2 separate regions of the Homo sapiens genome follow, and region 2 is linked to region 1. Evidence: promoter capture Hi-C in 16 types of primary human blood cells and fetal thymus (Javierre and others, 2016). All regions are on one chromosome and are shown on one strand. The core of a region is centred on a gene start or on the middle of the fragment in contact, and the rest is flanking DNA. Distances in the headings are between cores, read along the strand shown. Region 1 holds the start of ARHGAP39 (Rho GTPase activating protein 39). Region 2 has its middle 24 kb from the start of ZNF16.

The links. Contacts are between HindIII fragments. The CHiCAGO score rates a contact against its expected background, and 5 or more counts as called.
Region 2: a fragment that was not itself captured here is called in contact with the fragment with the promoter of ARHGAP39 in region 1 in 1 of 17 cell types (M1 macrophages); the score reaches 5.9 in M1 macrophages.

Annotation. Positions count from the first base shown.
Region 1 is chr8:144,683,244-144,688,763 of GRCh38, reverse strand. ARHGAP39 (Rho GTPase activating protein 39) reads left to right here and starts at 2,918. Exons shown (of 12, transcript NM_025251.3): 1 at 2,918-3,078. RefSeq lists enhancers at 542-1,414, 2,601-3,212, 3,826-4,438, 4,439-5,051. The HindIII fragment of the contact is 8,721 bases long and covers 2,277-5,520 here.
Region 2 is chr8:144,972,036-144,977,845 of GRCh38, reverse strand. It overlaps the pseudogene ZNF252P. Among named protein-coding and RNA genes, the nearest start is that of ZNF16, 24 kb to the right of the region's middle. The HindIII fragment of the contact is 1,387 bases long and covers 756-2,142 here.

The sequences.
Region 1 (5,520 bases), core at 1,669-4,168:
GTGCTATGTTCCTCCATTTATTTATTATTGTTTTACTTTCTGAGACAGGGTCTCGCTCTGTTGCCCAGGCTGGAGGGCAGTGGTGTGATCACAGCTCACCACAGCCTCGACCTTCCCAGGCTCAAGTGATCCTCACACCTCAGCCTCTTGACTACGCCTGGCTAATTTAAAATTTCTTTTTGTAGACACGGGGTTGCCTTATGCAGCCCAGGCTGGTCTCGAATTCCTGATCTCAAGCGTTCCTCCACCTTAGCCTGGAAAAACGATGGGATTACAGCTGTGAGCCACCACACAGGTCCCCCTCCATTAGTGGGGACTTTAGATTTTCTTTTTAAGTCCTTAAAGAGTTAAGTGTCCTTGGCCAGGTGTGGTGGCTCACGCCTGTAATCCCAACACTTTGGGAGGCTGAGGTGGGTGAATCACTTGAGGTCAGGAGTTTGAGAGGAGCCTGGCCAACACGGTGAAACCCTATTTCTACTAAAAATACAAAAAATTAGCCAGGAGTTGTGGTGGGCACCTGTAATCCCAACTACTCAAGAGGTTGAGGCAGGAGAATTGCTTGAACCCAGAAGGCAGAGGTTGCAATGAGCCAAGATGGCGCCACTGTACTCCAGCCTAGGTGACACAGCAAGACTCCATCTCAAAAAAAAAAAAAAAAGAGTTAAATGTCCTCTATAAATATTTTGTATATTTTTAATTAGTTAAGTGTGTGGTCACCAGGGTGGGAAATGCTCACTGTAAATGTGTGGTCATGGGGGTGGGAAGTGCTCACCGCTAGTATGTGGTCACGGGGTTGGGAAGTGCTCACTGTAAATGTGTGGTCACGGGGTGGGAAGTGCTCACCGCCAGTGTGTGGTCACGGGGTGGGAAGTGTTCACTGTAAATGTGTGGTCACGGGGTGGGAAGTGCTCACTGCTAGTGTGTGGTCACGGGGGTGGGAAGTGCTCACCGCCAGTGTGTGGTCACGGGGTGGGAAGTGCTCACCGCCAGTGTGTGGTCACAGGGGTGGGAAGTGCTCACTGTAAATGTGTGGTCACGGGGTGGGAAGTGCTCACCGCTAGTGTGTGGTCACGGGGTGGGAAGTGCTCACTGCTAGTGTGTGGTCACGGGGGTGGGAAGTGCTCACCGCCAGTGTGTGGTCACGGGGTGGGAAGTGCTCACCGCCAGTGTGTGGTCACGGGGTGGGAACTGCTCACCGCCAGTGTGTGGTCACGGGGTGGGAAGTGCTCACCGCCAGTGTGTGGTCACGGGGTGGGAAGTGCTCACCGCCAGTGTGTGGTCACAGGGGTGGGAAGTGCTCACCGCCAGTGTGTGGTCACGGGGTGGGAAATGCTCACCGCCAGTGTGTGGTCACGGGGTGGGAAGTGCTCGCCGCCAGTGCGTGGTCACAGGGGTGGGAAATGCTCGCCGCCAGTGCGTGGTCACAGGGGTGGGAAGTGCTCGCCGCCAGTGCGTGGTCACGGGGTGGGAAGTGCTCGCCGCCAGTGCGTGGTCACGGGGTGGGAAGTGCTCACCGCCAGTGTGTGGTCACGGGGGTGGGAAATGGTCGCCGCCAGTGTGTGGTCACGGGGGTGGGAAGTGCTCGCCGCCAGTGTGTGGTCACGGGGGTGGGAAATGCTCGCCGCCAGTGCGTGGTCACGGGGGTGGGAAATGGTCGCCGCCAGTGTGTGGTCACGGGGTGGGAAGTGCTCGCCGCCAGTGCGTGGTCACGGGGGTGGGAAGTGCTCGCCGCCAGTGCGTGGTCACGGGGGTGGGAAATGGTCGCCGCCAGTGTGTGGTCACGGGGGTGGGAAGTGCTCGCCGCCAGTGCGTGGTCACAGGGGTGGGAAATGGTCGCCGCCAGTGTGTGGTCACGGGGGTGGGAAGTGCTCGCCGCCAGTGTGTTGTCACAAGTTTAAGGTGAAGGCAGTCAGCCTGGATGTGTGATTTTCTTCAGCAGTCATGGAGGAGAAGGGTTGGGCTCGCCCAGTTGGGTTTTCTAAGTGAATACAGTGGAGAGGGAGCGGGAGGCGAAAAAGCAGAGCCCTGTGTATAAGAGTGAAGAGTGAAGTGTGACGACGGCCCAACAGGGAAGCGCGGGCGGCGAGACAGCCCGACGGGAGATCTCCTGAGGCGGGAGAGTCCCTGCAAGGCGACTGAGCTGCAGGGCAGGAGGTGGAGCTCCACGGATGACTTTTGACGGGGGCCTTTCAGCCCTTTGCGGCTTCTCACAGTTGAGGACCCAGGGAATGTCCAGGACTGAAGGGTGTGCGCCCCTGTCTTCTACTATCGAAGCTTCAGGCTGTTTAGCCTCCGTTTCTCCAGAAATGCCAGTCAGATTCAATTTCCAGAAACGCACCTGGCACTAAGAGAATCTAGAAAACCAGGCTGAACGCAGATTAGAAAACGCCGAATAGAGCACTAGTCGAGCTGCAGCTGAGTGAATTACCGAGTAAAAGTGACAGGACTAAAAAGGTGAGAATAACAGGAGGTGAAGAGACACGAGCCCGCCACAAGAAGGACTGAGGAACAGGGCAGCCCACGTTTTGAGAAGAATGGCTGTATTTCTAGAGTCGAAGAAAAGTGAAATCTCAGACTCGGGAAGCCCAACGTGGTTTGAGAGGGCAAAATTACACCAAACCACACCGAGACGTGTCAGATGGTAACTGCTCTGCACCGAAAGAGACGGGAAGACACCGCTAACTCACAGGGTAGGTCCGCGCGGGAGGCCTCTGGCGCGGCGACGGGGCGGGGCCAGGCGGCTCCCAGCATGCCGCGCGCGCCCTCCGCGGGACTCCGGCTCCCGGCATGCCGCGCGCCAGCGCATGCGTGATGCGGCCTCGCGAGGCAGTGCCCCCTGGCGGCGGGTAGTGACCGCCGCGGGGGCGGAGCCGGAGGCGGGGGGTTGCGCTTGGTGACGGGAGGACGCGCGGCCGCCGCGCACTGGGCCGGCGGCGGCGGCGGAGGACGCCGACAGCACGGGCTGCCGCGGCAGCAGCGGCGGAGCAGCAGAGAGGCCGGGGAGCGGCGGCTGGCTCACGCGCGTCGCGCGGGCCGGGATGAGGGACTGTGGCGGCGCGGCCCGCGCGCAGCCGGCCGGTGAGAGCGCGGGCAACGGGCGGTGGGCGGCGCGGGCCAAGAAGATGGCGGAGGGGCCGGCGCTGCGGTCCCCGTGGTCCTGGCCCAGCCTCGGCGGAGGCTCCAGGCCCGGCAGCGCAAGGAATCCAGGCCCGCGGCGACTGCAGCGGCGGGAGGGGCTGTGACTGGGCCGTGGAGGGAGGGGGCGTGGGTGTGCGGGGCCCGGCCGGGCGGGGGGCGCGGAGGCTCGAGGGGCCGAGGCCGCGCGGGGCCCGGGTGCGCGCCGACGGGCCGGGCTGGGAGTGTGAGGGTGGGTGAGTTCGCGTGTGCCCGGCCCGAAGTGGGTGTGACTGTACCCTGTCCAGAGTGAGTTGTGTCCCTGCCCTAGGTGGGTGTGAGTGTGCCCGGCCCCAATGTGGGTGTGGGTGTGCCCCTGTCCAGAGTGAGTGTGAGTGTGCCCCTGTCCACGGTGGGTATGAGTGTGCCCGGCCCGAGGGGAGTGTGGGTGTGTCCGGCCCCAGGGGGGTGTGAGTGTGCTCCTGCCCGAGGGAGGTGTGAGTGTGCCCGGCCCTAGATGGGTGTGAGTGTGCCCCTGCCCGAGGGGGGTGTGAGGGGACCCCGCCCGTGGTGGGTGTGGGTGCACGTGTGCCCAGCCTGAGCTCGGGGCACCGGCCGCATTCCCGGGCGCCGTCGGAGTGGGGACAAGGTGGATGCCCGCCGGTCGGGTCTGGTGCCCGCGTCCTGAAGGGCGGCCCGGGTGCAGGGCTGCGGTGCGCTGCGGTGCAGCCTCGGGCTTTGTCCCCGGGGCGCAGGGAGCGGACATGGGCGTCTCCAGGTGGGGTCATGGCCGCCTGCGGGTGGGCTCTGCGGCCTCGCCTCTGCGGCAGGCGCGGGCTGGGGCTCCGGCGCTCGGAGCCTTCCCCTCCCGGTTGCCCCCCGAGCTGGAATTCCCTCGGTTGCTTCCCGGTTGCTTCCCAGTTGCTGGAGTGCTGTGGGTGGAGGCGGCGTTCCGTGCCCAGGGCGGCGAGAGAGGCGGGCTGTGCATTTTGGGGCCCAGGACGTTTTTTATTTTAAAACGTGCAGCCGGCTCCTTGGCAGCTGTGGGTGTGTTCCGAGCCGCTTCCCACCAGCAGCTGCTGTGGGCGCTGCGCAGCTTCGGAAACGCAGCCGGGCCCCCTCCCCCTCAGTGCTGTACGGGTTTAACCAGACCTCCAGTGACCTCTGCTGAAAAACCTACAGTGGTGAGGCTTCTCGTGCCTCCTGGTACAACAATACGGAGATTTGTCTTTTGAAGCCAGTGAGGGGAATTGGACGCTGCGTCCTAGGTGCCCTCTATAGACAGCAGGTGGTTCCGTCGGCGGCGCCCGATCCACAAGGAGCAAGGTGCGATTCTCGCGCCGGGGGAGGGAAAGGCGATTTGATAGGAGGTGTGGCTGTAAATCGAGGAGACTCATTCCATAAACCGCCCTGGGCGCAGGCTCTGTAGCCATAAATGCTTGGAGTGAATGAATGGGGGTGGCGCCTCGCTCCCTGCACTTGGTGTAGCCAGCTGTCTTCCTGAGAGGCAGGGGAGCAGAGTGGACAGGAGGGCGGGTTCTGGAGCCAGGCTGCCCGCCTCTGAGTCGCGACTCTTCTGTTTACTGGCTTTGTGGTCTTCGGCAAGGTCTCTGTGCCTTTGGCTTCTCATCTGTAAAATGGGAACACTAATAATATTGGCCTCATAGGGTTGTTGTGAGGACTCAGTAAATTAAGACTTGTGAAACACTTTGTTCGTGGCACACTGTGTTTTAGAAAGTTAGGAATGGTTATTACTGCCAAGATCTGGTGCTTCCGGGGTGCATGTGCTGGGTCAGTGGGTCTTCAGTTTCTCCAGCACTGCCAATGTAATGTAAACTGGAAGTTTACATTAAGCTGGAAGTCTGTGGCGCTGGTTTCTCACACAAGAAAGCTGAGGTCATATTTGGATGAACACATGTTTATAAAGGTAAAAGAGAGACAAGCCTCACATACTTAGATGAATTATTATATAAGATTGTTTTAAGACGTTCTTAGAGAAAAATGGCCAGGTGCGGTGGCTCACACCTGTAATGCCAGCACTTTGGGAAGCTGGGGCGAGCAGATCGCTTGAGGTCAGGAGTTCAAGATCAGCCTAACCAACATGGTGAAACCCCGTCTCTACTAAAAATACAAAAATTAGCTGGGTGTGGTGGCTCACGCCTGTAGTCCTAGCTACTGGGGAGGCTGAGACAGAGAATCGCTTGAACCCAGGAGGCGGAGCTTGCAGTGAGCCAAGATTGTGCCACTGCACTCCAGCCTGGGTGACAGAGCGAGACTCTGTCTCAAAAAAAAAAAAAGAATATTTTATTTTATTTTATTTTTATTTTTAATTTTTGAGACAGAGTCTCGCTCTGTCGCCCAGGCTAGAGTGCAGTGGCACTATCTTGGCTCACTGCAAGCTCTGCC
Region 2 (5,810 bases), core at 200-2,699, 290 kb before region 1:
TCAGTGTTCACTCATACTTTATTCAGCATTGTAAAATTCACACTAGAGAAAAACCCTATGAGTGTATTAAATGTGGGAAAGCTTTTAGTACACATTCATCTTATGTTCAACATCTAAAAATTCATACAGGAGAGAAACATCATGAGTGTAATCAGTGTGGGAAAGCCTTTAGTCATAGCTCTAATCTAATTCATCATCAGAGAATTCATAGTGGAGAGAAACCTTACAAGTGCAAAGAATGTGGGAAAGCCTTCAACAGACAATCAAACCTTATTCAGCATCAGAGAATTCATTCTGGAGAGAAACCTTATGACTGTAAGGAGTGTGGCAAAGCCTTCAGTACACAATTATTTCTCATTCAGCATCAGAGAATTCATACAGGAGAAAAGCCCTATGAATGTAATGAATGTGCAAAATCCTTTAGCCTGAACCGAACTCTTACTGTCCATCAGAGAATTCACACTGGAGAGAAACCTTATAGGTGTAATGAATGTGGGAAATCCTTTAGTCAATGCTCACAAGTTATTCAACATAAGAGAATTCACACTGGAGAGAAACCTTATATCTGCAATGAGTGTGGAAAATCATTTGGTGCTCGTCTATCCCTTATCCAGCATCAGAGAATTCACACTGGAGAGAAACCTTATGGTTGTAGTGTGTGTGGGAAAACCTTTAGTCAAAAGGGACATCTTATTCAGCATCAGTGAATTCACACAGGAGAGAAACCCTATGAATGTAGTGAGTGTGGAAAAGCTTTCAGCCAGAGTTTTAATCTTATTCACCATCAAAGAACACACAATGGTGAGAAGTCCTATGAATGTAATGAATGTGATAAAGCCTTCAGTTTGCTTTCTTCCCTTGTTCAACATCAGAGAATACATAATGGAGACAAACCCTATGAGTGTCACAAATGTGGGAAGGCCTTTAGCCAGGGGTCACACCTTATTCAGCATCAGAGGAGTCACATTGGTGAGAAACCCTATGAGTGTAATGAGTGTGGGAAAACCTTTGGGCAGATATCCACCCTAATTAAGCATGAGAGAACACACAATGGAGAGAAGCCCTATGAGTGCAGTGACTGTGGGAAGGCCTTCAGCCAGAGTGCACACCTTATCCACCATCAAAGAATTCACACTGGAGAGAATCCCTATGAGTGCAGTGAATGTGGGAAGGCCTTCAATGTTTGTTCCTCTCTCATTCAGCATCACAGAATTCATACTGGTGAGAAACCTTATGAATGTAGTGACTGTGGCAAGGCGTTCAGTCAGCATTCACAATTTATCCAACATCAGAGAATTCACACTGGAGAGAAACCCTACATGTGCAATGAGTGTGAGAAATCCTTCAGTGCATGCTTATCCCTTATCCAACACAAGAGAATTCACACTGGAGAGAAACCCTATGTATGTGCCAAATGTGGAAAATCCTTCTGACAAAGCTCTCACCTTATTCAACATCAGAGAATTCACAGTGGGGAGCAACCTCATACGTGTAATCGATGTGAAAAAACCTTCAGTTAGAGAATAACTCTTAGTAGTCATGAGAAAATCCATACAATTCACATTAGAGAGCAAGTCTATGAATGTAGTAAGTGTGGGGAACTCTAGCGCACAGTCATCTTTCATTCAACATTGTACAGTTCACAGTGGAGAGTAACTGATTAGTCTATAAATTCTTCACAGTTATACATTATATGAGAGTCATACTCGTGAGAAATGAGTCACTTTATGGTTTTCCTTTTGGAGATTCAGCTCTTAAGGGATTTCACTCTCCCAGTGAGCTGCTAACTAAAGGCAGGCTGCTGAAGTATATAGCAGCAATCCCACAATAGCACACCTTGCTTCAGATTCAGAGGATGAGCCCCCTTCTTGAGCCCTGTAGATATGTGAAACTTAATTATTTAGATGCATTTCATGGCACCAGACCCTAAGGTACAGTTAGGTATTTCACTGGAGACCACTTACTTTGCTTTGCTTTGCTTTTTTTTTTTTTTTTTTTTGTATGATTTATTTCAACTTCAAAGAAAGTAGTTGAGATCCTTGCACTTCCAAGTGTGATGGAACCAGGCTAGGGTTTTCTTTGTTTGTTTGGGCCTCTTCAAAACGTTTTTATTCTGTTATAAGGAATATGATACCTTAAGCTTCAATTCACAGGGAAGAGAAACATGATTATAAGCAAAAGTTTGTCAAGGAATAAGGTGAGTCTTTGTGTAGATTAAAATAGTTGAGACCTTGCTAAAAAGTCAGATAACACTGTAATCCACCTCCAGGTTTCCAAGAGTTAAGACGCTGCCAGCAAGGAGCTTGCAGTCTTGTAGCTGGCCCAATATATCCAACTAATTCAAAATGGGAAATTGTACATTTTACTTAAACAGGATTTGGTAGATGGGTCTTCTAGATATGTTGTCATGAAGAAAAATCAGGAAAATGTCCAAGGGTGGGAGCCTGTGGCTTATGGCTTCACTTACCCATCACAGATAGCTATGTTACACTGCAAGAACAGAGTTCATGGCTTTTCCTGAGGTGGCTGGAAACCTTAATCTCCTGAAGTTAAGTCAAAACTTAAATGTCAATTCACCCAGCTCTCTTGCCTGCAGGCTGATCCAGGGACTTAGAGCTTGTTACCCAGTTACAACTTCTTCTAGAGAAGAACTTTTAAGAAGGAAGCAAAAAGAAATTCAGTTTCCCCCAAGGATCTCTTCTTTGAGGTTCCATCAAGAGATGACAAAAGGAGGCTGGGCGCGGTGTCTCACACCTGTAATCCCAGCACTTTGGGAGGCTGAAGTGGGCAGATCACGAGGTCAAGAGATCAAGACCATCCTGGCCAACATGGTGAAACCACATTTCTACAAAATGCAAAAATTAGCTGGGCATGGTGGTGCACGCCTGTAGTCCCAGCTACTTGGGAGGCTGAGGCAGGAGAATTGCTTGAACCCAGGAGGCGGAGGTAGCAGTGAGCCAAGATTGCACCACTGCATTCCAGCATGGCCACAAAGCAAGACTCCAAAAAATATATATATATATGACAAAAGGGTTAGGAAGCTTTTCCTCTGAGGCCCACGATTACACAACCAAATCAGAAAATAATATTTTTTTTGTTTTAAACCTGTTTACATAAGATGGAGGTGTTTACTTAACTAAGAACCTCGGTATTTACTCAAATCCGGTTTTGGGTTTTATGGCTAAAACATTTCTCCAGATTAACCTTATCAGTTTGGAATATGTTTTTATTTTCCATTAAATATTTCATCCAAATCATACTGAATTTTATTTATCATGGCTTTTAATGTTCTCTATTCAAGTCAAATTTCTGTTTCCTAATTACTTGGCTTGGTGATGGCATTAATATTGGTTGGGAGCTAGATGGTCTCTGCTCTATTTGATGATTGGCATAGAGCAATCATACACTTGGTACTTCCTAGCATTTTTTTTTGAGACAGTATCATGCTGTATCATGTTGCACAGGGTGGAGTGCAGTGGTGCAGTCATAGCTCACTGTAACCTTGAACTCCTGGGCTCAAGTGATTCCCCTGCCTCAACTTCATGAGTAGCAGGGACTACAGCTGTGTACCACCACACCGGCCTCTCCTGGCTTCTTAACCACTTACATTAAAATTGAGAGGAGAAAGGCATTTTCAGTTTCTTTAGTTAATAAAAAGAAGCCATTTCTGGAGGAGTTTTATGCCTGTACCAGCAGAGGTTCAGCCTTCCAGGAATCTCATCATGATCCATACTGCTGACACAGGCCTTTGTCACCTGAAGCATTCTTAAAATAAGGAGACTGACATTAAACAGGACAATTGTGAACTCCACTTTGTAAGCATCATACATATCTTACAACTCATTCTGAAGACTCCTTTATTCTTGCTCTTCCCAGAGAGCTACTGTGTTTAGTCATGCTCACTGCACTCACAAGAGAAAAAGAGTAAGTGGCATATTTGCAGGTGTTGATGGTTACAAGAGCATTTTTACTTTTTCCTCCATGTTTGTTCTGCAGCATTTCCATTGATGCATGCTATTGTAGACTTCTTAGGTTGACCTTGGCCTTGACCTCCACCACTAGCTCATGACCCAAAACTGAAGATGTGCATCAGAAAGGGACAGATTTGGTCTTTCTGCTGTAAAAGATATTCTGCCTTAGTGCCTGCTAATTTGTTGTGCATAGTCCTGTGCTGCCAATCTTCCCCACCAATTGTTAAGGTTAATGTGTGTTTTATATGTGTATTCACAAACATTAAAATGTAATCAGTGGATTCCATTATTGCCCATTTTCATGTAAGGTGGGAGGCACTTTGTATGGTTGGGAATCTGTAAGATCTTTAGGACTAAAACTCCTGCCTCTAATCCCAATTTATGAGGCCCTGACTCTCCAGGCAGCATGACTTAGTTGGATTTTTCTCTGCCACGAAACCTGCCAAGGCTTCTTCATCACCCAAAACCCTCCCATGACCAACCTGTATGAAAAGAGGGGCAAAGGTCATTATTAATCACAGACATGCAAAATGATATTACAAGATGTCATTTTACCCTCACTAGGTTGGCAAAAATTAAAGATCTGACAGAGAATGACACCAAATATATTTAGCAACAGTTACTCTCATACGCGGCTGATAGGAGTGGAAATTGGTATGACACATTGGAAAATATTTTGGCATTATTAATACAGTTAAAAATTAGCCCTGGCCAGATGCACTGGCTCACACCTGTAATCCCAGCACTTTGGGAGGCCAAGGCAGGTGGATCACCTGAGGTCAGGAGTTTGAGGCCAGCCTGGCCAACACGGCAAAACCCTGTCTCTACTAAAATAATTAGCCAGGTGGTGTGGTGGGAGCCTGTAATCCCAGCTACTCAGGAGGCTGAGGCAGGAGAATCGCTTGAACCTGGGAGGCGGGGGTTATAGTGAGCTGAGATCGCGCCCCTGCACTCCAGCCTGGGCGACAAAGCGAGACTTCGTCTCAAAAAAAAAATTATGTAACCCACAACCCAGTTCCACTCCTGCACATACATGTTGGGGATGTACTTGCATGAGAACTAGAAGATGTGTCCCAAAATGTTTAATAGCAGCTGTTCCTGTAATAGCAACAAAAAAAAAAAAAGAAAAAAAAACAAGTCCAGTGTTCATGGAGAGGGGGAGAAAAGAAGTTTGATTGTAAGTATAATATAGCAGAAAACTACGTCAAAATCAATTACCTGCAGCTACACACATTATTCTTAAAGCTGTCACTTTGCAGGGGAGTGTGGATTGTTCCCAATATCGACCAACTTTGATTGCTTCCTGTAGTGAAACTCCAGGAGACCTGGGAAATGAGGGAAAAGTGTGACCTGAGAGAGAGAGTGCCAAATAATTGGAAGATTTTTCCAGCTTACTGTTGGCAGAAGTGTGGGTGATATGAAAGGGAGCAGATTCTAAGGCTGTTCAACTAGAGATAATGTAATGTTGGATTGGACTGGGTTTGTTATATGAGTGCACACATGGCAGGCTGTGGATTCACTGTGCTAGTTGCAGTAGCAGCTTGTTAATGGAAGTCTATATTTGGTCATGGCCTCCATTGAGTGAGGCTGACATGCAGAATTGCCTGATTTTACAACAGAGAATGGATTCAAAGGTTCAGGAGGTGCAAGAGGGCACTCCTTTCACCCAGGCTTAGAGAAGTGCATTGATGAGGGAATAGTAACGTCCAGGAAAGACTCTGTAGTGGCTGTTTTATATAGTCTATCAAAGGAAGTAGGAGAGACTGTTATGAAAATGGATTTAGGCTGGGCGCAGTGGCTCACATCTGTAATCCCAGCACTTTAGAGGCCAAGGCAGGT